7 separate regions of the Homo sapiens genome follow, and all the other regions are linked to region 3. The links are contacts of gene promoters, found by promoter capture Hi-C in blood cells and fetal thymus (Javierre and others, 2016). All regions are on one chromosome and are shown on one strand. The core of a region is centred on a gene start or on the middle of the fragment in contact, and the rest is flanking DNA. Distances in the headings are between cores, read along the strand shown. Region 1 has its middle 8.1 kb from the start of LINC00327. Region 2 overlaps TNFRSF19 (TNF receptor superfamily member 19). Region 3 holds the start of SPATA13-AS1 (SPATA13 antisense RNA 1). Region 4 overlaps SACS (sacsin molecular chaperone). Region 5 has its middle 3.8 kb from the start of CPAP. Region 6 overlaps SACS (sacsin molecular chaperone). Region 7 overlaps SACS (sacsin molecular chaperone).

Region 1 (3,501 bases), core at 511-3,010, 790 kb before region 3:
CAGAAAGGCCAAAGAAGTAAGAAGTGAGAATCTTTCTCTCTCTCTCTCTCTCTCTCTCTCCTCCCTCTCTCTCCCTCCCTCCCTCTTCCTCCCTTTCTTTCTTTCTTTCTCCCACCCTCCCCTTCTCTCTCTCTTTCTCTCTCTCTCTCAATTTCCCCTCTCCATCCTTGAACTGGGACATCCATCTTCTCCTGCCCTTGGACATCAGAGCTCCTGGCTCTTGAGCCTTTGGACCCTGGGACATACACTAGCAGAGCCCCCACCCCCGCCCCATTCCCAGGCCTTCACCTTCAGACAGAGCGTTACATCATTGGCTCCCCCAGCTCTCAGGCTATCAGGCACAGACTGATTCACACCACATTTTTCCTGGTTCACCAGCTTGCACATGACAGATAATGGGCCTTTTTGGCCTCCATAATTATATGAGCCAAATCCCCTCTTTTACATATATGTATAGACACACACACACACACACACACACACACACACACACACACACACACATATATCCTATCAGTTCTGTTTCTCTGGAGAACCCTGGATAATACGAACACAATCTCATTTAATCCTCACAGCAAGACTGAGTTATTTATTTACATTATTGCTTCTTTCCAAATGAGGAAATTGAGGCTCAGAGAAGTTGCATGGCTTAGCCAGTCACACAGCTGGTAAGTAGAAATAAGATATAATTTTTCTGATTCAGATTTCAATATTCTTTTTTTAGAACCATTGGTCTAAGGTCTATCCTGTGCAATAATACCAAGCATGTCTAATTCCTCTTTTCTGCAACAGACTTTCATATAGTTGACCACAGATGTCAAGTGTCCCATAAGCATTTCCTATTTCTCACAAATATGCTCTGTTCCTTGCATCAAGAGTCATTTGACAAAGTTTCTACACCCCACAGCACCCTCACCTCTCTTCTAAACAGAGCAGTTAGTTTGAAAACTCGAATATAAAGACAATACTTTAGGTATGGCCAGCCCAGCACTAAGGAGAGCACAACTGTCTTCTTCATCCTCTAGTGTTATACACCCAGTAATTCAGCCTGAGCACATGATGTCCATAGCAATATGTTAAGCTACACATTAGGTGATCGCAGGTCTCACTTTGCCCAGGACAGTCTCCAATATGCCTGTTGTCCTGGCTGAATTGTTAATGATGCTCTTGTTTTACTCTTGAATGTCCTAGTTTGGATGACAATTGCATGGTCTCCTTACCTATTAGGAAACATAGCGTCAACCACTTCCTTCCTACAGTTGCTGTTGCTTAGGCTTGTCTTCTTGGGATAAAATTTGGACATAAGCAACAAAAACAAAAAATCTTAAATGTATCCACCTGCTTGAATCCAGCCTATATTATACTGCACGAATGGTCCCAGTTCTTCCGTGCACTCTGTCCTGCTTAGCTTTGCAGAGCCCTCACTCTGCAGGGTGGTGTCATTCTCCAGCCTTCACCATGGCCATGTGACTTGCTTTGGCCAATGGAAAGTTAAGAGTTATGAGATCATACACCCCTGAACAGTGTTTCCATGACTGGACTTGGATGCATATGCTTCCGCCATCACCATGAGAAGGCTGTGTCTGGGATGGCCGCTGTGCCCTGAGAGGAGGCTGAGAGACACATGGAGCACAGGTGCCCCAGCTCAAGTGCCCCAGCCTAGAGCTGAGATCAGCTGACAATAATGAGTGCTGGTTTAAGCCACTGAGTTGATGGTGGATTTTTTAAGGCATCTATACACAGTCTAGCTGCATACTACTCCAGATTCCCAGGCTTTGGGTATCTGACCCTACCATCCAAGCTACCATCATCCTAAATGTAAAGAGTATGTATGCCATACACATACTCAAGTCCCTTTTAAGCCGTTGAATAGGATAGGGCTGTTCTGTAACCCTCATGGAACAGCTTTCCAAATTCATAATTCAATCAGCAGTCTAACCAGACCAGTTAGTTATAATAAATTAATAATTGCTGACTTTTATTGAGCACTTACTATTTGCAACGCCCTGTCTTAAGCATGTGGTATGAACTATCTCATTTAATCCCCTTCACTCTATGAGTCAGATGATATAATCCCTATTTTATGATGAGCACAATGGTGAACACATGGCCTGAGGAACATACCCAAGTCACACAGCTGTGAGTGCAGCTGGGGTCCTCCCTGACAGCAGCACCTTCAATCCTGGGCACCTCATTCCCACCCATCGAATGCTGACCACATTCCAGGAGAGCCTGGCACATGGCTTTGGGGGAGTTGAGAATCAGTCTCAATTCTTAGTGGGATATCACTCACCGAAAAGCAGTCAGTGTGATATAAATAAAAAGAACATGAGATTTGGAGATAGCCAGACAAATGTGGGTTCACATCTGGGCTCCAGCACTGACCTACGGTTGTCTCCTTAATCTCTCTGAACCACACTTTGCTTGTCACAAAATGAAGGTAAAAATGCTAACTTCACATGGTCGTTTAGACTGTATAAAGCTCCTGGCTTGGAAAATTAGCCAGTTTCAGGAGATATTTGCTCTCCTCCCGGTCTTAGGTAAAAATAGGGTTGGTCCAACATCTTGCCCTGTGGTGTGTGGACGTGCTAAAGACTGCACTCAGGCCCTCCCTTGCTGGCCAGGCCATGTTTTGTGTTTATGAAACTAATTGTTTCACTGACTTGCACTTGTTGCTACTGACTCTTACACTGCATATTCAGGTCATTGCGTATTCCAAAAAAAGAATTCAGTCCTCTCCTTGAGCTAGCTAAGTGAAATGAAAGATAAGGCATTACTTCCTCTGAAAAACAAAATTTGGAAATTGAAAAACAAAACAAAGAAAACATTTTAAAAATTCTAATTAGAAGAGGGAATGGAAACTCATTTTCCAATTTTGGAAACCACTTCGTCATTTTGACACTAAATGTAGAAATGAACTCAACTTTGGAGCATGTAGGACCTCAGATCTCTACCACTGCAGATACTAGTAGCTGCGTTGTGCCCAGATAGCAATATAGGTAATGATTACAATCACAGGCTTTAGACCCAGAGACTCCAAGGAGGCTTATTAGCTGTAGGACCCTGGAATGTTTATACTTCGATTTACTCACTTGTAAGACAGAAATTACAATAATGCCACCTCATCTAATTGCAGTTGGAATGAAAAGAACTGATACTTAGAGAAACCTTAGCCCATAGTAAACTCTCAAAAAAAAAATCTGCTGAATTATCATTACTAATGAGATTTTGTTCAGTTAAATTTCTCTTTTAGAGCACATTTTTTTGATTTATGTAAGCATTACTGTAGCCATCCTAGGCAAAGCTACAAGAAAAACAAGGAACTGAAAATAGAAGGTTACTGGTCTCCCCTTTTAAACATTCCAGTTAAGTACCTTAAAATGCTATCTTAACATTTTTTTTAAACTTTATTCTTTCCACCTTTTCTTCTCTTTCCACTTTTCCTTCCCCTCTCTTAACTTCAAAAGCCTAACTGGATGCTAAGGATACCCGTGAAGGTTT
Region 2 (3,361 bases), core at 728-3,227, 680 kb before region 3:
CCATGCTAAACTGATTATATTTTTAAAGTGTGTCATTAATAACTTAATCTTAAAGATTTAACTGCTGTTTTTAGTCATGCCAGGAGAGGCATTTGCTTTTTTTTTCTAAGAGTACAACAAATCATGTTCACAATATCCTGCAATATCGGTTTAGTTTGATTTTTTTTTAATTTGTTTGCTTAAAATCTTCCTTTTAATCACAAAAGTGGTATTAATGTTCACATTCAGATAAAGAAAATTAGCCTTTTAAAACAATGACTGGAGATGGTGCCTAAAGAAATAGTGTGTCTGAAACTTGCTCATTTAGTTCAGATTTGGATTTTAAAATTTTTAAAATGACTGTTTATCCTGCTACTAGGATCATTTTAACAAATACAGGCTCTCCTCAGCACAAAACAAAGGGGAGAATTAGCAATTATCTGATTAATTTAGGCTTTGTAGAAAACTAGCTTGGGCAAGTCAAGTCCTTGAAAATCCACTTCAGTGTTTGAATTAATTCAGTTAATTGTTTACTTCTAGTGTCATTGTTGAGAAATGAAATAGAGTGTATTTGATTTTAAAATAAAGATGGTTGTATCTGAAGGTACAGGTACAGTCTCAAAAGGCATTTCCTAATTAATTGCCACAAAATGACTTTGGCAGATATAGTCCTATTACTTCTACTGAACAAAACCCTTATGTGACATTTTTCAAAGCACTTTCCTATCTGTTGCTTCAATGGCAGCTTTGTTACTACAGAAAGTCCAAGTCTTCAAAAGACTTTTATGTTGAGTCCTGATACTGTCACCAATTAGCTATATGACCTCAAGAGAGTTTCCTCATGTGTGAAGTGAGGGAGTTGATCACATCATCTTTATGAAATAAGCAGAATTGGAATTTTTATGGCCATTTTACAGATGAGGAAACTGAGGCTATAGAAAACGAATGTCCCTATCTTAACAAGGTCACATGGCTGATTTTCCCAGTTCTAGTCCAATGTTCTTTCCAGTCTACCATGCAGGGTCTGCTTTCCAACAACTGCTTAAACAAATGCACTCTGTAGCTCATCAAAGAACAATATTAGTTTGAAAAATAAAGACAGCCACTTCCTATTGTAGTGCATTTTTTTTTTGTTTCCATGATAGATATGTCAGTCAGCTGGATTCGTCTGATTATTTTCCAACTGTTCCTTCTACTTCTGGACTTCTAAGCTGTCTAAACACAGTAGCTGCTACCCATAATTTAACATAATTTAACACGTAAAATAATTTTCACAAAAAGTTTAATGCATCAATGTGATGTGGAATTATATATGTATTTGTGTGTTTGCCTCTGTGTGTGTGTGTACATACGAGTTTGGCATTATATCAACACATATTTGTGTGTTTTGAAGGAATTGATATTTTCTTAGATGATGCCAGTGGCATCCAAAAACAGTTTAATAATTAAAGGTTAATTTTCCTCCAGGGAAATTCCCAGTGGGATTCTGTGAAACTTCAGTTGACAAACTCAATGTGCATTTCAAACATGATATGATATGTGTTTCATATCATGTTTGATTATGTTAAGACTCTTGAGCATGTTTTCATTATCTCTTTGCTTTTCTTCCTTGAAAAAATATATCTTGGGGCCAGGAGCGGTGGCTCACGCCTGTAATCCCAGCACTTTGGGAGGCCGAGGCAGACGGATCACGAGGTCAGGAGATCGAGACCATCCTGGCTAACATGGTGAAACCCCATCTCTACTAAAAATACAAAAAATTAGCCGGACAAGGTGGCAGGCGCCTGTAGTCCCAGCTACTTGGGAGGCTGAGGCAGAAAAATGGTGTGAACCCGGGAGGCAGAGCTTTCAGTGAGCCGAGATGGCGCCACTGCACTCCAGCCTGGGTGACAGAGTGAGACTCTGTCTCAAAAAAAAAAAAAAAAAAAATCTATCTATCTATATCTTGTGTGAAAAATTTTAATTTAGTTACTAATAAAATTTTATACAAATACAGGACTCTCATGGCCAAACAACTGCCCTCATAATAGGGCTTATCACCCTCTTTAGGATTCCTACATATACAAGATTATTACTAACATGACCTAATATTTATTAATTCACTCATTATCAATTAATTCAATATCAAGTACTTGTGCAAGGATAAATAACATGTGCAAGATTATAGGAATAATTCAGTGGCAGCATTGTGATCTACATTTTTTTTGTTCTGGGGCTAGGTGATTCATTCTTTTTAAGAATTACACAAAGCTGAACTTGACTGTCAGCAAACATTATAGCCAAAATTTTGGCCAAAAATATGGGCTCCAGTTTTTTTTTTTCCTTTTATATATTTTGTAAGAACTATTAGACATTTTTAATAGTATTTTCTGTCAGGATGGCCATAAAGGACCTCCCTAAGCCATGAAGGCATAATCTGTTCTCCCTCTGCTTCAGGAGTGAACTGAACTCAACCATCTGGCATTGGTTTAGTCGGATTCTCTTTCTGTGATGGCAAGGCCAGTCCAAGCCACCCTGGAAGAATGAGTGATTTTGTCCCCTTTAAAGGATGGTTCTTTAAAACGTTGTCCACCTGGGTGAGCTCTGTGATGGGAGGGCAGAGGGAGGCTCCCTGGTGGCTGTGTTGGCTGTGCTTTAATTTCTCCTCTACTGTCACTAGTCATTCAGCTTTGGCTCCAAAGTTGTTACCTCAAACCCACCCACTTGCCAAAATCAATACTCACTTCTTTAGATTAAGTAGGTAGTTTAAAACCCTCCTTTGTGACTTAAATTTTCTCTTTGATGAGAAGGGGAAGGAGAAGTCATGTGGGGGTTTCCAATGACTTCATAAAACCATTCCTTCCAACATAACCCACTGTCTTTGAGAGGAGTTCTGATAAAGATAGTTTTCTCCATCCTGTTAAATGCCCCCCATTCTTTGGTGGCTCTATAGCTTAGCACCATGGGCTGCTGCCCAGCCAGCCTGGCCTCAAGCCAGCCCTAGGTCGGGGAGTCCACCATGTTCATCAGGAAGGAGAGAAGGAGAGTCAATGGACTGTCTCTTCCCTCATCGAACTCATGAAAAGGGTCTAGCCAATGAGGTACTCAGGGCCAAACTCACAAAGATCAGTGCAAGTGCTGCAACTTGTAACAACTTTGCTCTGTAAGTGTCTTGAGCTCCACTTACAGGAGGGGGCTATAAAAATAGCCTCCTTGGGTTTTTCATATATATTGGTTTACGCACCCATGGTATGGTGAAGATTATGTTAAGATACAGAAAGCCCAGATTCTGATTCCAGCTTTGTTAATTAACTTGGTGTGCAGCATTCAGGAAGTCACTGGGCATTGGCCTCACGGTGCTCCCTCAGCCCCATGCTGATAGTCTATAATTGGCAGTAGTGGG
Region 3 (3,552 bases), core at 377-2,876:
CAGGCTAGGGAAGGGATGGCATCCAGGCTCACTCCTGGGAGTGGAGGAGCCACCGGAAGGTGTGTGATGGGAGACTGGCCATGGCACTGTCCCAGGAGCTAGTGAGGTATCCAGTGAGCACTTTATCTGGGTATCCAGTGAGCGCTTTGAAAATACAAAACATTTAATTAAAGACCCTATCTTGAAGAAGTGTATACTTATTTGGGGAGGAGTTATAATAAGGAGTTAACTTATTAGGAGTTAGTGACTGTCTTTCTGTCACTCACCCAGGGGTTCAGGTCCCAGGATGGAAGATTCAGCTGTCCGAGCTTAGGTGATATGTCCACCACCTGGTGGTACTGGAACAGGAAGAAGGGTGGGGTGTCTGTCTCCAGGGACCCTTGCCTTCTATATGTGAAGACAGGCCAAGTAAGTATTTAACAGAGCAGACAGTACTATAAAGAAAAATAAAACAGGATAGAGAGCATTCATTTCCAAAGAGTGTTATTCTAATGACACTCTAATGAACAGGATGCACCTGTTCCATGAACCCTCTCTCTCTTCCCTAGAAGGAGACACCCAGATCCTCATCAGTGGCAGCAGACACCTCCAAGTCTAGGACCTCTTAGGATAACTAGTCCTCCAGTTCCATGCAGTGCCTCTTCAGCGTTGATTAACTAGAGGCAGATTTAAGCAACACATCCCTACCAGAATGGCAAGGCAGGGAAAGGAAGGAAATAGAGAATTTGGGATGCTGTGGAGAATAAAACGTCATGCAAAGTTTACATTTCAGCATTTGAACAGATTCCATAAGTCAATATGTAGGATGCACCAAGGCACCAGTGACGGCCCTGCAGAAGATGACTTTGGGTAATGTGAGGAGTAGGAGCAGGTGGGGGAGATAGCCTCCTCTCCAAGGAGGTGACGCTGGGGACAGGTGAGTAGGAGGCAGTGAGGCAGAGATCCGAGGGAGGAGAAGTCCTAGCCGAAGGAGCACCAGAAGCCCAAAGACAGGCAGGAAACATGATGTGTCTGAGGTTCAGCAAGGAGGCCACAGTGACAGGAGCTCAGGGAGCAAGAGGCAGACGAGGATGTTGCAGGCTGGGAGGTGGGCTGAGGCTGGAAAGGGCTCTGCAGGTCATGAGGAGGCTGAGCTTGTTCTAAGTGTGGTGTGAAGCCATTGGCAGCAGGAGCATATTATGTTCCGGTTTATGCTTAGAGAGGGAGGGCAGTTTGTGGGGGGAAAGGAAGAGGAATGGAGATTGATTTGAAGGCGATTGCATTAGTCCATTTGAGAAATATGGTAGCAGTGACCACAAAAGCCATCCCCATTTTCCGTGGGTGCTCATTTTCCCAGTGGTACGAAGAGGCAAAAATGGCCAGCCTTGGTTCTGATTCACTGTGGCCAGGACTGTGAACTCTGGAGGAAGTACTTCTCCCTTGGGCACTAAATTCAGTTTCAACAGAGCAGAGTTCCTAGGTGGGAAGAAAACATTTTGCAAGTATATTATTAAGTAATCCTAAGAAGCCGCTTCTATGTTTACCCTTGGTTTCCGGCCCTGCATCTTCTGCTGTGGGCCAGCCTCTCCAAATTAGTCACTGCTTCAGAGCTTGCGTCCCATCCAGGGCAGTATGGCAACTTCTGGGTGTGTCTCCCAGCTGCCTCTGTAACTTCATTTTTATTTGGTTGTTATTGGGTGTGATGGGGTCATGTGCTTCCTTCTCTGTGACGTTCTGGGCCTGGATGGCGTGTGAGATGCTGCGACAGGATAGGGGCCTTCTAGAGGATCCACAGAGTGCAGGAAAACAAATCCAAGCCCAGCATAAGTGGCCCTTCCAGTAGGGACAAATCACCACCCCCTCTATTATGAAAAGGCCCCACTGCAATCAGCTTTCCGCAAGGGGCTGTCTGGTTCCTGCGGGGAACCGTATCATCAGCTTTGTTGAGGGGAAGGCCCAGACTTCCTGTGGTTTAGCCCAGGCTTGGCATCCATTTTTGCCACCATGGCCTTTTTCTTGCTTGCTTCTTTTTTTTTTTCCTTTTTATGAACCCACTGAGCAAGTATCAAGATGACTAGGAAGGAAGACTGGCATCTAGCTGCACATTGGGACAGCATGTCCACATGATGATTGATTAGCCTCTCTTGCAATAAGGATTCATGTAGGATGGACATCATCTCATGCTCTGCGGGTATTCTGAGGTAGCCAGTTATACTCCTTCCCCAAACCCATCCTCAGCCCATCTTGTTCTTTCCACATTCCTCCAGGCCATTCAGCCAGGCCATTAGCTCCTAACCAGGAGTGCGCACGAGCTAAATCCTTGCCTTGCCAAAGCCATCTCTCCTACTCAGAAAGGCTTGGGAAGAGTATTGCTTACATTTGCCGCCGGGAGTTTCCCTGTCCTGAGGACACAGTCACCAGGCTGATGGTAGGAGTTCTCTTTGAGAAGCTAGGAAGAAGACTTGTAGTAGGATGCCTACCCTGAGGCTCCCTGGCTCTGCTCCATCAAGAGGCCTGAGTCTGGGAGTTGAGTGAGGGCCCTCCCTTGTCTTCTCTGTCATGGTGGCTCAGGTCGGGCTCTGCTTGCCAGCCCTGGAGAGTTCCTCCTACACAATGTTGTGGTACCTTTGTGGAATCACTCATCTGTTTTGTTCCTGGGGACCCCGAGATCAGTTAACAGCACAACCAGAGATTTCACAGGTCAAACCATTCAGATGACCAAGCTGGCCCTGCTGTGTGGTATAGTAACTATGCCCACCTTTTTCCCATGACAGATGTCCCACCCCCATGGAGGACCAGGTTTGCATTGCAGTGGAACCATCTCTCAGCAGCATCTCTGGCCTAGAGAGATTAGCAGTACATTAATTATAAAAGCTGCTGTCACATGGGAGATGCAGCCCAAGGGGTGGTGAGACTCACATGATAGACCATCTCTAGCATTTCCATCCCAGTCCTGGAACTCCTTCCTTTCTATGCACTGAGGGTTTTAGGTTTATATACCAACGAAGTGCTAGAATGGCATCCAGCTCAGTAAGCCCACAAATTGAGCTCAGCAAACCAGCTGTAAAAGCATCATTTTGAGACACGTTGGGGAGATTTTCAGATGAACTGAATATTTGGCAACATGAAGGAATTATTTTTAATTTTGTTAGTTGGGATAAGATAGTGCAGTTATTTTTAAGTCCTTGTTTGTTATACACAGATAGTGAAATACTTTCTGCATAAAATATGATATGTGAGATTTGTTTTAAAATACTCCAAAAAAGTTGGTGGGAAATAGTTGAAACAATATTGGCAAAAGACTGATAATCGTGGGTTCATGGTATTATCTGCTTTTGTGTGTATTTGAAATTTTCTGTAGTATCAACTTTTAAATAATAATGAAAGTATATTTCTCCTCCCTGGTCAAGTATTCTCAAAATCTTGATAACCAAAGGTTGGTAAATGGATATAAAAATAGAGCTAGACAGGAAGAATAAGTCCTACTGTGCCACAGTTAATGACAATGTATTGTATAGTTCAAAATAGCTAGAAGAGAGGATTCAAATGTTCTTAATACAAATAAATGATAAG
Region 4 (3,565 bases), core at 935-3,434, 870 kb before region 3:
TCCGTAAACCATGCTGTAAATGGATGTGCTGTCGGCCAGGCTTTGTTGTTCCATTTATAGAGCACATGCAGAGTAGATATAGCATAATGCTTAAGCGCCCTAGGATCCTTGGAATGGTAAATGAACTTGGCTTCAACTTAGTCACCAGCTGCATTAGCCCCTAACAAGAGTCAACTTGTCCTTTGAAGCTAGGCATTTATTTTTCCTCTATAGCTATGAAAGTCCTAGATGGCATCTTCTTCCACCAGAAGACTGTTTCATCTACATTGAAAATCTGTTGCTTAGTGTAGTCACCTTCATCAGTTATGTTAGCTACATCTTCTGGAGAACTTGCTGAAGTTTCCCCATCAGCACATGCTGCTTCACCTTGCACTTTTATGTTATAAAGATGGCTTTATTCCTTAAACCTCATGAACCAACCTCTGGTAGCTTCAAATTCTTCTGCAGCTTCCTCACCTTTCTCAGCTTTCACAGATTTGGAGAGAGTTAGACCTTTGTTTGGGTTAGGCTTTGGCTTAAGGGGATGTTATGGCTGGTTTGATCTTCTATCCAGACCACTCAAATTGATTCCTAATCAGTAATAAGGCTGTTTTGCTTTCTTATAGTTTCTGTATTCACTGGAATAGCACTATTTAATTTCCTTCAAAAACACTTCCTTTGCATTCACAACTTGACTGTTTGTCACAAGAGGCCTGGCTTTCCTGTCTTGGCTTTCAACCTGCCTTCCTCACTAAGCTTAGTCATTTCTAGCTTTTGATTTCAGGTGAGAGACTTGCAACTCTTCCTTTCACTTGAAGAGTTAGAGGCCATTATAGGGTTACTAGTTGGCCTAATTTCAATACTGTTGTGTCTTAGGGAAAAGAGAGGCTGGAGGAGAGGGAGAGAGGCAAGAACAGCCTGTTGGTAGAGCAGTGAGAGAACATACCGTTTATCGATTAAGTTTACTGTCTTATTTGGGCACAGTTCGTGGCACCCCAAAACAATTACAATAGTGACACCATAGATTAGTAATCACAGATCACCAAAGCAGATATAATAACAATGAAAATGTTTAAAATATTATGAGAATTTCCAAAATGCGACACAGAGACACGCTAACGGAGCACTTGCTGTTGGGAAAATGGTGCCAACAGACTTGCTGGATGCAGGACTGCTGCAAACCTTCGATTTGTTAAAAACGAATGTCGGCCGGGCGCGGTGGCTCACGCCTGTAATCCCAGCACTTTGGGAGGCCGAGGAAGGCAGATCACGAGGTCAGGAGATCAAGACCATCCTGGCTAACACAGTGAAACCCAGTCTCTACTAAAAAACACAAAAAAAATTAGCCGGGCATGGCGGCGGGCAACTGTAGTCCCAGCTACTCAGGAGGCTGAAGCAGGAGAATGGCGTGAACCCGGGAGGCGGAGCTTGCAGTGAGCAGAGATCGTGCCACTGCACTCCAGCCTGGGCGACAGAGCAAGACTCCGTCTCAGAAAAAAAAAAAAAAAAAAAAAAAGTCTGTGAATGAAATAAGGTATTCCTGGACTTGCCATTCTAAGGGCTTCACTTTCACTACGAAGCTGGAAGACCCTGTAGAGATAAGCTGGTCCCCTGGTCACCCTGACCGTTTCTTTTTGGTCCTCATAGACGGCTGGTTTTTAAACCATTTATCTGGGAAGTTGCCATTCACCTGTGTAGGGTGGTGGTTTGAGTTCAGGTGATGCAGCTTCTGTGATATCAGGAGTTTACCCAATGGACAGCATGGTGCAGAGAATTCAGTTCCTTAGCAGGAACTTGCAACTTAATCTGTCCCTTAAACTTTTTTATTACAACATGATCTATGGATCCAGAGAATATGGCGGTGAGGTACTATTAAGTAATAATGTGTGTAATCATCAGAGAAATGCATATTAAAACCACAATGAGACACCACTGTACCCCAGCCAGAAAGGCCATTATTAAAATGTCAAAAAACAATAGATGTTGGCATGTATGCGGTGAAAAGGAACACTTACACACTGCTGATGGGAATGTAAATTAGTACAACCTCTACGGAAAACAGTATGGAGATTCTTTAAAGAACTAAAAGTAGATCTGCCATTCAATCCAGCAATCCTGCTACGGGGTATCCACCCAAAAGAAGAGACGTCATTATATCAAAAAGACACCTGCACACATATGTTTATCACAGCACAATTCACAATTGCAAAGATATGGGCCGGGAGCGGTGGCTCACACCTGTAATCCCAGCACTTTGGGAGGCTGAGGCAGGAGAATGTCGTGAACCGGGCAGGCGGAGTTTGCAGTGAGCCGAGATTGCGCCACTGCACTCCAGCGTGGGTGACAGAGCGAGACTTTGTCTCAAAAAAAAAAAAAAAAGAAAAAACAAAAGATATGGAACCAATCGAAGTCCCCATCAACCAATGAGTGGATTTAAAAAATGGTGTGTGTGTATATATATATATATGGTACATATAATATAAAATATATATAAAATATAAAAATATGGTGTGTGTGTATATATATATATATATATATACACACACATACCACAGGCTACTACTCAGCCATTAAAAAAACAAACAAATAAAATAATGTCTTTTGCAGCAAATTTGGATGGAACTGGAGGTCATTAATTCAAAGCGAAGTAACTCAGGAGTGGAAAACCAAATATAGCATGTTCTCACTTATAAGTAGGAGCTAAGCCATGGGTACACAAAAGCATACAGAGTGGTACAGTGGACACTGGAGACTCAGAAGCAGGGAGGGTGGGAGGGGGTTGAGGGATAAAAAACTACATATTGGGTATAACGTGCGCTACTCAGGTGATGAGTGCACTAAAATTTCAGACTTCACCACTACACAGTTTATCCAAGTAACCAAAAACCACTTGTATCCCTAAAACTATTAAAAATAAATAAATAAATTTAATATAGTATTTCAGGGTGATAAAATACCAAAGAATCAGAAACCAAAAGAAAGTATCATTTGCAAATACCAAATTTTAATCCATGTATTCAAAAAATACATAACATGAGTTTTCTATGGACAAGGCATGGAGCTGAATGTCTTACATTCTTTATATATTTATTAATAAGATTTTAAATGGAAACTTGTATGTGTCAATTACCAAAGACACACCCATCTGTTAATTACTCCTTAGTACCCTCTACCATTTAGCTAAAACATATATGTGTGTGTATATATATATGTGTGTATGTGTGTGTGTGTATATAGCCTGTGTATATATATAGCCTGTGTCTTTAAGTTACAGGAAGGCTTTAAATAGTTACTGTGCTCCTGAAATGATGTGAAAGGTTACAGCTTTATTAAGTTGCCCAATACTTATTAATGCAATTTTAGAGTTGGTTTTATAACTAGGAACTGAATGTCTACTAATCAGCATGACTACAAAATAAAATTCAGAATTGTAAAAAAATATATATATATTAGTAACATGTGGATATAAAGATGATTTATTTCTGCCCACTGACCAGGGTCACTGGAAAAGGCAAACACTTAGAAAGTCGTCTTTACATCCACGTTACTAATTTTACTTAATATGGTATCTGCAAAGTACATGTGC
Region 5 (3,251 bases), core at 733-3,232, 670 kb after region 3:
TACCAAAGCCTAGCTCTGTGGGTCTTGTCAAATGCTGTGCCAGACACAGAATAATACTTATTGTATTCCCAAATTATTTGGAAATAATTCTTTTTCATTATTTATTTTTTTGGAGACAGGGGTCTCACTCTGTTGCCCAGGCTGGTCTCTAACTCGTAGGCTCAAGCAGTCCTCTCACCTTGGCCTCTGAAAGTGCTGGAATTACAGGCATGAGCCACTGTGCTTGGCTGGTAATAATTCTTTTAATCAAAGTTGATCTGAGTGACAAAGAGTTGACAGCTTTTCATTGCTGGTCTGATGGTAGCAAGTGTCCACTCTATCCAGAGAGGACATGTCAGGTGCAGTGGCTCACACCTGTAATCCCAGCACTTTGGGAGACTGAAGCGGATAATTTGAGCCTAGACGTTTGAACGTTAGCCAGGTATGATGGTGTGCACCTGTAGCCCTACATACTTGGGAGGCTGAGGCAGGAGGATCACTTCAGCCCAGGAGTTGAAGGTTATGATCACACCACGAGACTACAGCCAGGGCAACAGAGTGAAACCGCCAACTCTTAAAAAGAAAAAAAGTGGGGGAGGACATCAGGGCTAGCCTGGCCAAGGAATGATTCCTATAGATCAGTCAGAGTGGTGGGAGAAACTATAGGGAAAGGAGCAGACCTTCTGAAAAGTCGGAAGCCTCTGCATAGCCTCCAGGGAGAATAAGCTGAAGGCAGCTGTTTTCTGACCCTGAGGCAGAGGGCAAGGAGTAGGTACCAGGAAGCATAGGGGAATTTATCGTAAATAGGCTTGTTTACTTACATTGACCAGGAGCTGACCTTTGATCATCCACATGCGTGACCCGTTCCCTGAAAGGGGAACAATAATGTTAATTACCCACAGATTGTTTTTGCTCCAGGCTTTCAGCATTATGTCTATACTGAATAAAAGCAAGCAGCTCCAGCTGTTTGCCTGCTCACTCTTTGGCCGCTAGTGCCAAGCAGTCCCCTAGCTGCTCTTACACTGCATATCTGCGTCTGAGTACTCGTTTCATCCATCGTCCAGCCAGGGTCTGTGGGACAGACCCAGCAACTGGTGCCCTGTGTGAGGAATGCTGCAACAGATCACGATGGAACCCCCAAAAATGAGGTGAAGAGACTGTGCGGGAAGTAAGTAATTGGTGCCCACTCAGGATTTCCAAGTTTGAGGGAATTTTCAACCTAGGGTTTCATCATGGGACAACAGTTATCAGCTCAACAGCAACACTATATGTAAGTATTGAAACAGCTGCTTAAAGCTAGCAGAGCCTGGGTCTCGGAGGCTCAGTTAAGGGGCCTAATGCAAACTGTTGTTTTCAATAACCCATGGTTCCCAGAAGAAGGCACGTTAGACCAAGAACTCTGGGAGCAAGTGAGGGGAAATCTTAAATAACATCATGCACAAGGGAAACGGGTCCCAGTAACATCTTTAACGTTATGGGCCTTAATCAGGGCTGCTTTGGCCCCACTCTACACAAAAGAGCCTAAAAAGGAAAGGGAAGAGGAACCATCCACCTACCTGACCGCCTCCTCCTCCCTCAGCCCCACTGTTACTAGGTAAAGGTGCCACAGAGGAGACAGAGTTTCCCTGAGCCCCCTCCTCCAATAAATTGGAAAAAAAGACAAGGGATACACTACAGTTACGGGACCCTGTCTTAGGCAAGTGGCATTAGAAGGGGAGCTCTTGGCCTGCCCTGTGATGCAAGATCAACACGGCAATCAGGTATATGAGCCCATCACTTTCAACACCTATAAAGAGATAAGAAAAAGCATTAGAGAAAACAGAGCTGCTAGCCCATCTACAAAAGGATTAATTGAGGCCATAGCAGACAACTTCCTTATGATCCCATGGGACAGGTCAGTGCTAGCTCAAACAACTTTAGAGGCCAGTCAATACCTCCTCTGGATGGCAGAATATGATGAGTTGTGTGAATGACAAACCAACCAGAATCAATTGGCTGGGTAAAACATATGGGTCACTCAGAAACAGAAAATTGTCGGCACTGGAGAAGTGCACACAGCCAAGCAGAGTGCACGCCCTCTAAAGTCACGATTTGGAGGGAAGAAAAGCAACTATACAACCTCTAATCATGCCCATCCCTGTTCATCTTTGGGAATGGGACCTTATTAGCCCAATGGGGGGGTCACTATGCAGAGCCCTTTCTAATAGTGGCCACTGTTGTAAGTCCTCCCCTACCCCTGACATGGCTGTCTCAAGATCCAATTTGGGTAGAACGGTGACCTTTAAAGGGAGAGAAATTACAACAAACCCATGAATTAATTGAGGAACAATTAAAAGCCAGCCATATAGAACCAGCAGACAGCCCTTGGAATTCACCCATTTTTTGTCATTCCCATAAAGTCTGGTAAATGGAGAGTTCTGCATGACTTACAGGCTATCAATGCTAATTTGCAACCTATGGGGCCCCTTCCACAGGGGCTCCCTTCCCCCCGCAGTGATTCCTCGAGTTTTGAGTCATTATTGACTTAAAAGACTGCTTTCATACTATTCTCCTTGCAAAACAGGACAGAGAAAAATTTACGTTTACAATACCAGCTATCAATAATGAAGGCCCAGCTCCCTGATTTCACTGGAAAGTACTTCCCCAAGGAATGCTGAACAGTCCTACCATGTGTCAGTATCGTGTAAATAAGGCTTTGCTCCCCAGTAGAAAAGAATTTCCTAATTGCAAGATAATCCATTATATGGATGACATCTTACTGGCAGCCCCAACGGAGCCAATACTTTTGAATTTATATGCCTCTGTCAAAAAGAATACACAGTTAACAGGCTTAATCATAGCACCTGAAAAGGTACAGATGTCCTCTCCTTGGAAATATCTTGGATATATACTAACATCCCAGTCAGTAAGACCTCAGAAGGTTAAATCGAATACTAACAACAGGCTTGTTTACTTATGTTGACCAGGAGCTGACCGTTGATCATTCACACACGTGACCCCTTCCCTGAAGGGGGAACAATAATGTTAATTACCTGCAGATTGTGTTTTCTCCAGGCTTTCAGCATTATGTCTGTACTGAATAAAAACAGGCAGCTCCAGCTGTTCAAGACTACTCACTCTTCAGCCACTAGTGCCCAGCAGTCCTCTAGCTGCTCTTAAACACTGCATACCTGTGTCTGAGTACTCCTTTCATCTGTTGCTCAGCCAGAGTCTGCAGGACAGACCTGGCAGATCCCCAAGCCCAGGTGATCCGGGCTAGAAAGGGGAACTCC
Region 6 (3,490 bases), core at 414-2,913, 830 kb before region 3:
ACTGGGCATCCACCTGCGGCCTGATGTCCACTGGGAACTGGATGTTGCCCTGGGGTCAGGGTATCTACCTGGAGCGTGGTGTTCACCAGGGGCCTAGGCATCCACCTGGGGCCTGTAGTCTACCTGGGGCTTCCTGTCCACTGTGGCCCTGGTATTTACCTGGGGCCTGGACATCCACTTGAGGCCTGAAGTTTAAGTGGGGCCTGGTGTTCAACGGGGGCCCATGTGTCAACTTGGGAACAGACATGCACCGAGATGCCTGATATCCATCTGGGGCCTGGTTTCCACCTGGGGCCTAGTATTTACCTACGGCCTGGGCGTCCACCTATGGTGTATTATCTAAGTATCTAAGTAACAACGTTTGAGAGGTTATTAGGCCTATATATGAACATGCTACTAACTAGAAAAAAGTTATGTGCAAAGGAGCTTTGTGATGTACCTTATTATATTGTTGAATGGAACGTAACTTTTCATTAAACAAGTTCCTAACACATTTTATAGAATCTAACAAATGAGATTTCAGAGGCCTATATATAAACATGAAAATTCAGCCCAATAACTAAAAACAAGCCATGTGAGAAGAAGCTTTGTGATGTGCTTTATTATATCACTGAATGTAACCTGTGTTTTTATTAAAGAAGTTCCAAACACACATTTTATCGTTTTATACAACCTAAGGAATGACATTTCAGAGGCTGTTAGGCCCACATGTGAATATACAAATATTCATCCTTAATAACTAAAAACAATCTGTGCATGAAGAAGCTTTGTTATGTGGTATTTCAGATCACTGAATGAATGGAACCTGTGTTTTTATTAAACAAGTTCCAAACACACGTTTTATAAAACCTAAGGAATGACATTCCAGAGGCTATTAGGTCTTATGTGAATATTTGAATATCCATCTCTAATAACTAAAACAGTCTGTGTGCAAAGATGCTTTGTGATGTGGTGTTTCTTTTTTTTTTTTTTGAGACGGAGTCTCACTCTGTCGCCCAGGCTGGAGTGCAGTGGCACGATCTCGGCTCACTGCAAGCTCTGCCTCCTGGGTTCACGCCATTCTCCTGCCTCAGCCTTTGGTGTTTCATATAACTGAAAGAAACCTGTGTTTCTGTTAAACACATACTAGAAACATGTTTTGTAGAATCTAACCAATGACATTTCAGACATTGTTAGGCCTATATATGAACATATGAATATCCAGACCTATTAACTGGAAAAAAGCTATGTGCGAAGAACATTTGTGATGTGCTTTATTATATCACTGAATGAAATGTGAGTTTCCATTAAACAAGTTGTAAAAACACGTTTTGTAGAACCTATTTAATGAGATTTCAGAGGCAATCAGGCCTATATATAAACATATGAAAATCCAGCCTTAATAACTAAAAACAAGCTATGTGAGCAGAAGCTTTGTGATTTGCTGTTTTATATCAATGAATGGAACCTGTGTTTTTATTAAACAACTTCCAAGCAGACGTTCTTTAGAACCCAGGGAATGACATTTCAGAGGCTATTAGGTCTATATATGAATATACGAATATCCATCCCTAATAACTAGAAACAATCTGTGAAGAAGCTTTGTGATGTGCTGTCTCACATCACTGAATGGAACCTGTGTTTTTATTAAACTAGTTCCAAACACACATTTTTTAGAACCTAAGGAATGACATTCCATAGGCTATTAGGCCTATGTATGAATATACAACTATCTATCACTAATAACAAAAAACAATCTATGTGCGAAGAAGCTTTAGGATGCACTGTTTTATATCACTGAATGGAACAAGCATTTCTGTTAAACAAGTTCCAAAAGGACGTATTGTAGAATCTAAGTAATGACATTGCAGAGATTATTAGGCCTCTATATGAACCTACTAATATCCAGCCCTAATAACTAGAAACAGCTATGTGCAAAGAACATTTGTGATGTGCTTTATTATATCGCTGAATGGGACGTGAGTTTTCATTAAACAAGTTCCAAACACACATTTTGTGGAATCTAATTAATGAGATTTCAGAAGCTATTAGGCCTATATATAAACTATTAGGCCTATATATAAAAATACGGAGCCTTAATAACTAAAAGCAAGCTATGTGTGAAGAAGCTTTGAGCTTTGGGATGTACTATTTCATATGAATGAGAAGAACCAGTGTTTTTGTTAAACAAGTTACAAGCACTCATTTTTTAGAACCTAAGCAATGACATTTCAGAGGATATTATCCTATATATGAATATACGAGTATCCATCCCTAATAACTAAAAACAGCTTTGTGATGTGCTGTTTTATATCACTGAATGGAACCTGTGTTTTTATGAAACAAGTTTCAAACATGTTTTGTAGAATCTACAAAAATGACATTTCAGAGGTTATTGGGTTTATATATGAATATACACATATCCACTACTAATAACTAGAAACAAGCTATGTGTGAAGAAGCTTTCTGATGTGCTTTATTATATCACTGAATGCAACTGGAATCTCCATTATACAATTTCCAAACATATGTTTTGGAGAATCTAAGAAAGGAGATTTCAGGCCGGGCATGGTGGCTCACGCCTATAATCCCAGAACTTTGGGAGGCCAAAGCGGGCAGATCACCTGAGGTCGGGAGTTCGAGAGCAGCCTGGCTAACATGGAAAAACCCCGGCTCTACTAAAAATACAAAATTAGCCGGGCATGGTGGCGCATGCCTGTAATCCCAACTACTTGGGAGGCTGAGGCAGGAGAATCACTTGAACCCGGGAGGCGGAGGTTGCAGCGAGCCGAGATCACGCCACTGCCCTCCAGCCTGGGCAACAAGTGGGAAACTCTGTCTCAAAAAAAAAAAAAAGGAAATGAGATTTCAGAGACTATTGTACCTACATAGATTTTCAGCCCTAATAATGAAAAACAAGCTATGTGAGGAGAAACTTTCTGATGTGCTGTTTTATATAAATGAATGGAACCTGTGTTTCCATGAAGCAAGTTCCAAACACATGTTTTGTAGAATCTCAGATATGACATTTCAGGGGCTATCAGGCCTATATATCAACATATGAACGTCCAGTACTAATAACGAAAACCAAGCTATGTACAAAGAAGCTTTGTGATGTGCTGTTTTAAATCACTGAATGGAACCTGAGTTTCCATTAAACAAGTCCAAACACAGGTTTTGTAGAATCTAAACAATTACATTTCTGAGGTTATTAGGCCTATATATGAACATGTGACTATCCAGCTCAGTTAATTATCATGAAGATATGGGTGAAGGAGCTTTGGGATGTGCTTTATTATATCACTGAATGGAACCTGTTGTTTCATTGTATCCATCGGGGGCCTGGGCGTGAGCCTGGTGCTTGGTGTACACCTCAAGTCGAGTGTCTACCTGGGGCCTGATGTCCATCTGGACACTGGTGTCCACTTGGGGCCTGACGTCCACCTCGAGCTGGATGGTCCTCTGGGGTCAGGGTGTCCACCTGGGGCCTCCTGTTCACCTTGGCCCTGGT
Region 7 (3,692 bases), core at 788-3,287, 890 kb before region 3:
CGTTTCGAAAAAGAAGGAAAAAAAAAAAAGGAATAAACATCCTGAGAGAAAAATTAAAAGGTTGTCTGGGAAGGAAAGAGCTGGGAGCAGGCCTGCAGTCTATTTCCCCCTTTCCCCAGGGAATACCCAAGAAAGAAAGAGATGACCCAGCCAAATCTCCTTGTTAACATGCTGATGACAGACCTCTAGGCAAGCACATACACGGTGTTTACTAGGAAGAGTCCTTAGCTACTGGATACTTTACAGAAGTTGCTTATTGGAAATAAGCTTGGAATTTATATATTTAAGAGGCATAATCCCCTTGAAAATGTCACAAGTTATGTTGATTATCAGAGAAAATCATGTACATGTTTTATGACTGAAATAGCTCCCTCTGTTAAGTGCTGGTCTGTGTGCATCACTCAGAAACCAACTCCGTGAGATCCAGGCCAAGGTGTGTCCTAGTGCAGCACAGAGGGACTCTCCGTGCTTCCTTCCCCTGTGTCTTATAATCAGCTGTATCCTTGAAATCCTTAGTAAAGTGTGTTATACTGGGTGAGAGCTCTCATTCTTGTGCATGTGATTTGACAATCTGAGCCTTTTATTATCTCATTATATAAAAATGAATAAAAATAAGTTGACCTTAAGAGCTTCTGGCTGTGAAACAAAGTGCCAGTAAAGGGGAAAAGCCATGATACAAGATGACTGCTCACATCTGAATGCAAGAGAAAGATATTCTCAAATACACAAGAGCCTGGAGGGCTCTCAATAAATGTTTGTTAAATAAAGAGATCAGAGATCACTGCCACCTGCTTTTATATAATACATTCCTTTTTTTTTTTTTTTTTTTTTTGAGATGGAGTCTCACTCTGTCACCCAGGCTGGAGTGCAGTGGCAAGATCTCGGCTCACTGCAATCTCCACCTCCCAGGTTCAAGTGATTCTCCTGCCTCAGCCTCCTGAGTAGCTGGGATTACAGATATGCATCACCACGCACGGCTAATTTTTGTATTTTTAGTAGAAACAGGGTTTCGCCATGTTGACCAGGCTGGTTTCAAACTCCTGACCTCAGGTGATCCACCTGCCTCAGCCTCTCAAAGTGCTGGGATTACAGGCAGGAGCCACCATGCCCAGCCTGCATTTATTTCATTTTTTATTTATGTATGTATTTATTTTTGAGACAGAGTTTCGCCCTTGTTGCCCAGGCTGGACTGCAATGGCACAGTCTCAGCTCACTGCAACCTCTGCCTCCCGGGTTCAAGGGTTCTCCTGCCTCAGCCTCCCAAGTAGCTGGGATTACAGGTGCTCACCACCACGCCCAGATAATTTTTGTATTTGTATTAGAGATGGGGTTTCACCATGTTGGCCAGGCTGGTCTCAAATTCCTGACCTCAGGTGATCTGTCCACCTCAGCCTCCCAAAGTGCTGGGATTACAGGCATGAGCCACCGCACCTGGCCTACATTTATTTTTTACTTACTTATATATTTATTTTTGAGACACAGTTTCGCTCTTGTTGCCCAGGCTGGACTGCAATAGTGGGGTCTTGGCTCACTGCAACCTCTGCCTCCCAGGTTCAAGCGATTCTCCTGCCTCAGCCTCCCAAGTAGCTGTGATTACAGGTGCCCGCCACCACACCTGGCTAATTTTTGTATTTTTAGTAGAGACAGGTTTCAACATGTTGGCCAGGCTGGTCTCGAATTCCTGACCTCAGGTGATCTGCCCACTTGGCCTCCCAAAGTGCTGGGATTACAGGTGTGAGCCACCGCACCCAGCCCACGTTTATTTTAAATTGGCCACTTTTAAAGAGCCTATCTCTAAATATACCTATGCATAAACTCGCAAAATAATCCAGTTTCAAATGTTTTTTAAAACAAGGTGAAGTCAAGGCTAGAAGCAAAAACATCATAGGCTCTCCTTACACTCTTACCTTAGCAGTTCCACAGCACATACCGTCATCAGTATGATACCAGGTATAAAACATTATCACATATATTATCTCATATAATCCTCAAACTATGTGGGAGAAAGATTTTCTCATACCACTTGCAGGCAAGCAGTAAGTCAGTGTGAGGGTCACAGCTGCCACTGAGTGTAACAGTGCCTGGGGGGCAGTACAATGGGGTAGTACTGTGTAGGATTAGGACTTAACCTGAAGTCTCTTGAATCCAATGTTACATTAAGTCACAGGCTCTTAGAGACAAGATACCTTGCAGGCTAATCCTCTTATTATAAAAATGATCTGACCTCTGTGATGACTGGCCCAAGTCACTAAGGTAGCAGCAGTCAGGACTAGAACGCACACCTCCTGATGTTATGTCCCACACACCTCTTTTTATAGAGTATAGAAAGTACAACTTTCAAGTGACAAATGTGAGCTAAGAATGACTATATGAGACATAACAAATGCTAGATATTTAACTAAATGTTAACTGGCCTCCTAAATCATAAAACATCTTTTTAAAAATACATGACTTAAATCTCTTTAAAAAGGTGTCTCAGAAGGTCTGACTTGATCCCACTTTTTCTCAGTAACTTTCTGTCACATACAGTCATTGACAATGACTTCAGAGGTATACTAAATTGAAGTGATGTGATCTCGGCTCACTACAACCTCCGCCTCCCGAGTTCAAGCGATTCTCCGGCCTCAGCCTCCTGAGTAGCTGGGATTACAGGCGTCTGCCACCACGCCCAGCTAATTTTTATATTTTTAGTAGAGACGGGGTTTTGCCACGTTCGCCAGGCTGGTCCCAAACTCCTGACCTCAGGTGATCTGCCCACCTCAGCCTCCCAAAGTGCTAGGATTACAGGCGTGAGCCACCGCACCCAGCCAGAGGTATACTACAATTTATGAACATTCTTTTTGACACCAAAGCTCCCCGGAGTAGAAGTGAGATATTAGGAGTCTATTGGTTAGGGTTCTTATTGGATTAATAATTTATTAGTTTATGGCTTTCTTATCATGTTTCCTTTCATTTTCCTTGTTCTCTCCTCTCCTTCAATCTTTCTTCCCACCCAACTTCCAAACAATGTCGAGGGTACTCCTAAAGCGGAAAATACACAAAAGCATGGCCTTTCACAACATCTTTCCAAATGCAGGAAAGTGTTACTATACATAAATGGTGTCCCTTTATCCTACTGATAATATAAAATACAAGTTGTTTGAATAGAATAAGAGGCTTTGGTCATTACATTGCTTGTCATTTTGAGTTTTCAGATTTTATTCTTTGTTCTCTAAAAATACCAACTGGTGGAGACACCTTCCCACCAAAAGCAGAGAAAAACATCTGAAGAAGTGGACATAAACATGCCAAAAAGTACAAATGATAGACTGTTCATTAAACAAAGCATTATTAATCATTAAAAACTGCCTGTTAGTGCATACAATAAAATTTGTTCCTAATTATTGATTCTTACCCTGATATGGCGCCATATCTTTTGACCAAAGAGTCTCTGTTCCGTATTGAGTTTCATCATATAAAAATTTAACTTCTGTCGCCCCAGCATCTTCTGCATTCTGAATTAATTCCTAACCAAAAAATATACCAAAAAATAGTAATTAATAACACAGTAATCTACTGCTCATCTTTGTATTTATCTATAATATTTAAGAAGTTAATATACTTAAATAAAGGAAACCCACTATTTGCAACATTACCTTTAAGATCTGGTGAGGCTACTACTGAAAGTAATTGTTACATAGATGTGACAGTAT

What was found. The method cuts DNA at HindIII sites, captures the fragments that hold promoters and counts their contacts. A CHiCAGO score of 5 or more calls a contact.
Region 1: a contact is called between a fragment that was not itself captured here and the fragment with the promoter of SPATA13-AS1 in region 3, in 5 of 17 cell types (M1 macrophages, monocytes, M0 macrophages and 2 more). The highest score is 9.5, in M1 macrophages.
Region 2: a contact is called between a fragment that was not itself captured here and the fragment with the promoter of SPATA13-AS1 in region 3, in 1 of 17 cell types (monocytes). The highest score is 7.3, in monocytes.
Region 4: a fragment that was not itself captured here is called in contact with the fragment with the promoter of SPATA13-AS1 in region 3 in 2 of 17 cell types (activated CD4 T cells and total B cells); the score reaches 6.7 in activated CD4 T cells.
Region 5: a fragment that was not itself captured here is called in contact with the fragment with the promoter of SPATA13-AS1 in region 3 in 1 of 17 cell types (naive CD8 T cells); the score reaches 6.3 in naive CD8 T cells.
Region 6: a contact is called between a fragment that was not itself captured here and the fragment with the promoter of SPATA13-AS1 in region 3, in 1 of 17 cell types (total B cells). The highest score is 5.1, in total B cells.
Region 7: a contact is called between a fragment that was not itself captured here and the fragment with the promoter of SPATA13-AS1 in region 3, in 2 of 17 cell types (naive CD8 T cells and activated CD4 T cells). The highest score is 6.5, in naive CD8 T cells.

What each region holds. Positions count from the first base shown.
Region 1 is chr13:23,459,686-23,463,186 of GRCh38, forward strand. No RefSeq gene overlaps it. Among named protein-coding and RNA genes, the nearest start is that of LINC00327, 8.1 kb to the right of the region's middle. RefSeq lists enhancers at 940-989, 1,519-1,688. The HindIII fragment of the contact is 5,614 bases long and covers 1-3,501 here.
Region 2 is chr13:23,572,174-23,575,534 of GRCh38, forward strand. The region is part of intron 1 of TNFRSF19 (TNF receptor superfamily member 19); the gene reads left to right. Among named protein-coding and RNA genes, the nearest start is that of TNFRSF19, 3.4 kb to the left of the region's middle. RefSeq lists enhancers at 2,038-2,207, 2,678-2,827. The HindIII fragment of the contact is 6,515 bases long and covers 1-3,361 here.
Region 3 is chr13:24,252,813-24,256,364 of GRCh38, forward strand. SPATA13-AS1 (SPATA13 antisense RNA 1) reads right to left here and starts at 1,627. Exons shown (of 3, transcript NR_046531.1): 1 at 1,524-1,627; 2 at 267-387; 3 at 1-144. All of the region lies in intron 4 of SPATA13 (spermatogenesis associated 13), which reads left to right. The HindIII fragment of the contact is 5,552 bases long and covers 1-3,552 here.
Region 4 is chr13:23,385,992-23,389,556 of GRCh38, forward strand. The region is part of intron 2 of SACS (sacsin molecular chaperone); the gene reads right to left. Among named protein-coding and RNA genes, the nearest start is that of SACS-AS1, 31 kb to the right of the region's middle. The HindIII fragment of the contact is 2,903 bases long and covers 734-3,565 here.
Region 5 is chr13:24,925,048-24,928,298 of GRCh38, forward strand. It overlaps a transcript of CPAP not described here. Among named protein-coding and RNA genes, the nearest start is that of CPAP, 3.8 kb to the left of the region's middle. The HindIII fragment of the contact is 5,023 bases long and covers 1-3,251 here.
Region 6 is chr13:23,421,705-23,425,194 of GRCh38, forward strand. The region is part of intron 1 of SACS (sacsin molecular chaperone); the gene reads right to left. The region is part of intron 1 of SACS-AS1 (SACS antisense RNA 1); the gene reads left to right. Among named protein-coding and RNA genes, the nearest start is that of SACS-AS1, 4.5 kb to the left of the region's middle. The HindIII fragment of the contact is 172 bases long and covers 1,578-1,749 here.
Region 7 is chr13:23,361,772-23,365,463 of GRCh38, forward strand. It overlaps SACS (sacsin molecular chaperone), which reads right to left. Exons shown (of 10, transcript NM_014363.6): 6 at 3,395-3,506. Among named protein-coding and RNA genes, the nearest start is that of SACS-AS1, 55 kb to the right of the region's middle. The HindIII fragment of the contact is 3,544 bases long and covers 266-3,692 here.